Regions from separate parts of the Homo sapiens genome. Here region 1 is linked to region 2. Evidence: promoter capture Hi-C in human tissues and cell types (Jung and others, 2019). All regions are on one chromosome and are shown on one strand. The core of a region is centred on a gene start or on the middle of the fragment in contact, and the rest is flanking DNA. Distances in the headings are between cores, read along the strand shown.

Region 1 (2,700 bases), core at 63-2,562, 480 kb before region 2:
GAAACTGTTCTCTACATCAGACTGTCAGAAACTATGTTATTTGAAATTTTATAAAGTGAGAATGGAACATCCCACTCTCGCACTGATGGTAGATCATTATGAAACAGAAGCAACCTCACTTTGCAACTCAGAGCTTCAGATAAGGGGTTTCCAGACACAACATTCCACATGTATCGCGATTTTGTAGTCTCCAGGGAATCAGAATCCTGAGTCAGCTTCTCAGCCCAGGCCTGATGTTTATTAACCCTTGACACACAGTCTTGCCGTGCTTTAAGCTTATCAAATATTGTTGCGTTTAAACTTTATCCAAACTCCACCATTCTCCAAAATCCTATAATAACCCTGGTTCCTTCTTTAGAAATGCTGACATTTCCTCTGCTGTGCAAGTCTCCTTCACTGCAGCAAGCTAATTAACCTTTGTCAGCCTACAGATGTGTCCCTGGTGGTCTCTACCAGATGAATCTTATAAAGGGACTTCATCAGGTTGAAATAAAGACTCTATGGAAAACAAAAATTCATGTGGAAATTTAATACATAATAAACAGCATTTCAAATCAAGAAAAAGGTGGCTTATTGAAGAAATGGTATTGAATTAATTAATCTTTTGGGGAAAAAAAAACAAAACCAGCTGGATCCTTACTTTCTAGTAACAATTTCAAATGTTTCTAAGATTTCAGTATTTTAGAAAATGGAATTAAAACAAAACTGGAAGAAAATATATTTTTGCATTTTGATATTACGAATTGAGATCTCTCCCACACTCAGAAGCTGTGACTATTAAAACACTATGAGTTTATTCATTGGATAAACTTCTGGCAATGAAGTCGCTGGTTAAAGGGCATATTTCTTTATGAAATATATTTTTTTAATGTACAGCAAAAAGAACCAAAAAGTATCATAAATAATAAAAAAGATAGTTAACCAAATACAAAAACAGATAAAGAAAATAAAAGATTCACAGTAAAAAATGGTCAACGATGTTCAAATTTCACTCACAAAGGTAAATCAAATGAAGAGATATTATTTTTAACCTAACATATTGGCAAAACTTTTAAAGTTTATTAACAGCTGTTATTGACACAGATACAAGAAAACTGGTAGTCCTGTATTCTTTCTCATAATACATACTTTTACTGTCTTTTGGAAGGGCATTTCACAACATCTTTTTAAATTTTTAACTAATTATGCCTTGATATATCACTTCATGATCAGAAACTTATTTTACAGATATAATCATAGAAGTCAGCCAAGATGCTCGACAGCCATAACCATAAGACGTCTGTCTGTTGATGAGGAACCAGTTTTTTAAAAAAAAGATAGAGCCATAGCATAGAATAGTAGTAGCTGTTAAAAACAATGATCTACATGTGCTGATAGGGAAAATCTTTGTGCTTTTGACAAAGGTTACTTTTTATTGTTAATAAGGTATACTGGGTATTTTTTTAAACATCAGAAAATGTAAAGAAAACAAAAGGAACAAACCTAAACAAATGAAAGAAAATCATAGACAGAAAAGAGTAAATTTTCTTTACCATCTCTACCACTATCTCTCCCCAAAAGTAACTGCTTTCGTATCGTTGGGTAATGCCTATATCATCACATATGTATGTTCAGCTTTTAATTTACATCAGAGATCATGCTTATCGGTTAGTCTGCACTTTAATTTACCCCTTCACTTATTTTATCCATAACACAATGTCATTCATTTTAACAACTGTATAAGATAAAAGGTTTATTTTTTAAGACAATGTACCGAAATATTTTCTAGTATGATTTCACTTGGCTTTTTAAATGTTTCTGTATATATTTTAAAATCTGTTAAGATATATATACATATGATATTTAACAAGAGCTATCTCTGGGAACTAGCACTGGGTGGCATGAGCAAGGAAGGACAAATTTTTTTTTATTTTATAACCTTTTGATGTTTTAATTTTGCATCGGGTACACACATTACTTTTCTGATAAAAATTAAATAAAGGGAGGCAATTTTTATCTACAGAGTGAAATAATATGATAAAAATTAAAGTCCACTAATTTCTCCACACTTGTCAAACAAAATGATCTCTTGATCCTTTCAGACTTCTCCAAGTTTCAGATTCACATACACAAATGCCTGCTAAATACTTCCACCTGGACCATAGGCATCTCTAATTCAACACCTCCAAAGTGACTCATTACTTTCCTCTGCTCATTTTACCTTAATTACTGGTAATTACCTAAATTATTCACCAATGGGTTCCTATTTCACTCAGAGCCACAGGATTATCTAAACTACAAAGTACACAGATATTCTTAATGCTTCCCTTATCTTCACCCCAAATCCAATTACCAAGTCTTGCCAACATTACTTCCTAAATATTATTCTAATCCATTGTCTCCTCTCCATTTCTAGTATTTATCCTATTTCAGACTCTCCTCTCTCCCCACAGGCTATTACAATATCTAACCTCTCTGACTCAAGTGCTATCCCTCTTTAACTCATACCCCGTCACCAGAATGAGCTCTCTAAAATGAAAAGCTGACCATGTCACCCCATGAATCCTTTCACGGAACTCCACTGCCTACAAGACAAAAACTAAACATTTTTTATTAACATGATATATAAATAAAGGCTATGACCTAGAGCCTGTCCAGGTTTCCAGCCTCGTCTTTTGCTATTCTGTGCCTTATAATTTATGTCTGCTTCAGCAATCCTGA
Region 2 (2,706 bases), core at 101-2,600:
AAACATAAAAGTAAAATCATGACTCTGATACAGATATAAAAATGAGCACATGCTAAAGATTTTATTTAATTCAAGAGGAAACAGGCAGATATTATAACTGGTTCAAAAGAGAATCTGAGGGCTGGACATGGTGGCTCATGCCTGTAATCCCAGCACTTTGGGAGGCTGAGGCGGGTGGATCACTTGAGGTCAGGAGTTTAAGACCAGCCTGGCCAACATGGTGAAACCCCCATCTCTACTAAAAATTCAAAAATTAGTCGGGCTTGGTGGTGTGCACCTGTAATCCCAGTTACTTGGGAGGCTGAGGCAGGAGAATTCCTTGAACCAGTGAGCCAAGATCTCGCCACTGAACTCCAGCATGCACAGCAGAGTGAGACCCTGTCTCAAAATTAAAAAAAAAAAGAGAGAGAGAGAGAGAATCTGAGAAACAGACATATTTTCAGATCAGGAATATTGAAATGATTATGTAAATGGAGAAATGCAGTCAAAACTGCATTTTCTCTAGTGGGGATTGTGGGAAGTCAACCAACTTCCACCAGACAGAACATAACTTGCATCGATTACCTACAGTTTTCAAAGAGGTGTAAAATACCTCAAAGATAAGGAACAGGGTTGGAATCAAGTAACATGGCTTTCTAAATGTGCTTCGTTTTCCATTAAGACGCAAATTTCTTCTTCTGCTTGCCTCATCCTCTTCAGGAAGTAGAGTTCTGGCTAATTTTTTTCTTCTTTCAATTCTGTACATATTCTCTGAGTTTTCTAGCTATCACTAATTCAAAGTGATTTGGAAAAGCTGGAATTCTTTTTCTCCTTGTTGGGGCGAGGATGGTATCCTGTCCCAGGCTAATCCTCTATTATTTCATCCATGGGCTCTATTTACTGAAGTTTTCGTTAAATGTGTCATTGTGATCATAAGCTAGCATGATGCACCCTCTTGTTCCATTTGTCACGGTTGCACATGGACATTGATTTTAAGCCTTGAGCTCTCCGGTAAGGCAGGACTGGCCCAGGCATGGTCTACGAGATGCTACAGGAAGCAGAGACTTTCTAGACGTTCCCTTAAAGATAGTCAAGACATCCCCATGAAGACGTTCCCTTAAACTAAGGAGAAATTTGAGTCTGGGGTTCGGCGTTGCCAATTCTCTTAGCATAGAGCCTCTTAACCGCTAGACCAGATAGAGACATTTCAAATGGCTCCTAAATTTGGGGAGCGCGTAGGCTCATGGGAAATAGAGTCACGGTATTTGTCCTGGGACCGGCGGCGGGTCCCGGGAGGCGGACTTCCGGTGCATTCCTGCGCATGTGCACCCCTCTCTGTGTGCGTGTTCGCGCATGCGCGCCGCGGCCGCAGTGCCCTCGCTTCCTGTGCGTCCCCAGGTCACCGCTCGCCCTAGTTCCCAGGCTTTGGCCTCCGGTGGGCGAGAATCGCGGAGCCTGCGGGGCTGGGCGCCGAAGAGCCGGGCCGGCACCCAAGCGGGCGCGGGGCTGTGCGGGCCAGGCGGAGGCTCAAGCGGGGATCCCCGAGCACGACCCCCGGAGCCGACGGCGCTGGGGCCCAAGGGGCCGGCCGGGCGGTGACGACGGCGGAGGCGAAGGGGCGGCGGGACCCGGGCCCGGCCCGTGTGCGTCCTCGACGGCCCGGCCCCGGCTCCGCAGGACGGTGAGCCCCAGGGAGACGGATCTGGGCTCCGGGAGGGACGCCCCGCCTGGATTTGTCCCGTAGGCCCGGCCCGGGCCCCTCTGGAGCAGAACGGCCTTGGTGAGGTGGACAGGAAGGGACCTCGCGAGCAGACGCGCGCCCGCGACAGCAATCCCGCCCCGGCCTGTCGGGAGCGGTGGGGCAGAGGCTGCGGAGCCCCAGGAGGGTAAGTCGTGGGTTTGCGGGCCCGGGGCGAGAAGGGCCTGGGTGAAGTCACCGCGTGTAGGGCACCTTAGAGTGAGGGACAGTGGAAGGTCTCGATCGCTTGCAGGAGTGACGTGTGTTTGGGTTTGAAGGCAGGGTCCGGCGAGGACGAGGCTTACGGGGGCGTGGGGGGTGTCACCAGCCTCAGCTGCGGACGTTGTCTCCACTCCCCCCTCACCCCAGCAGCCCTTCCTCCTCTCTCTGCTCCAGATTGCTACCGTATCTAAACGTCCGTCAGCACCTCTGTTCTCTCATTTAAGTGCTGATTCCCCCTTAGGTCTGCTCTTGTGGAATCATACGTTGTAGTGCAGGAACAGCCTGCAGGAACTATCTCTTGCTGCCTCATTTGCTAGGGGAAGGGCCTTAGCAGGTGGGTGACTTGTCCGAGGTTTTGTGGGTGGAGTTGCTCATAGTAGAACTCTGGAGTTTTATCTCCCAGGCCAGTGTTCTGTCCCCCGTATCCTAGTTAAGTGAGCGTAAGTTCTTCAATAAAAGATCCTTTTGAGTAGCACACTGAAGTTTCTGCAAATAAAGACTCAATTATGCCGACTGTATTCCTTTATTTAGGGCATCCTGTGGATTTTCTGATCTTTATTTAAAAGAGTAAGAAAATAGATGAGTATTACAGAATTCATTTTTTGTTGTTTGTTTTTTGTTTGTTTGTTTGTTTGTTTTTGAGACAAGTTTCGCTTTGTTGCCCAGGCTGGAGTGCAATGGTGCCATCCCAGCTCACTGCAACCTCCGCCTCCCGGGTTCAAGCGATTCTCCTGCCTCAGCCTCCCGAGTAGCTGGGGTTACAGGCG

What was found. The method cuts DNA at HindIII sites, captures the fragments that hold promoters and counts their contacts. A contact is called where the count stands out against the background at its distance.
Region 1: a contact is called between a fragment that was not itself captured here and the fragment with the promoter of ZNF12 in region 2, in 1 of the 25 tissues and cell types used here (dorsolateral prefrontal cortex).

Annotation. Positions count from the first base shown.
Region 1 is chr7:7,187,800-7,190,499 of GRCh38, reverse strand. The region is part of intron 1 of C1GALT1 (core 1 synthase, glycoprotein-N-acetylgalactosamine 3-beta-galactosyltransferase 1); the gene reads right to left. Among named protein-coding and RNA genes, the nearest start is that of C1GALT1, 6.6 kb to the right of the region's middle. The HindIII fragment of the contact is 8,882 bases long and covers 1-2,700 here.
Region 2 is chr7:6,705,591-6,708,296 of GRCh38, reverse strand. It overlaps ZNF12 (zinc finger protein 12), which reads left to right and starts at 1,350. Exons shown (of 5, transcript NM_016265.4): 1 at 1,350-1,865. RefSeq lists an enhancer at 1,182-1,681 and a silencer at 1,375-1,734. The HindIII fragment of the contact is 19,528 bases long and covers 1-2,706 here.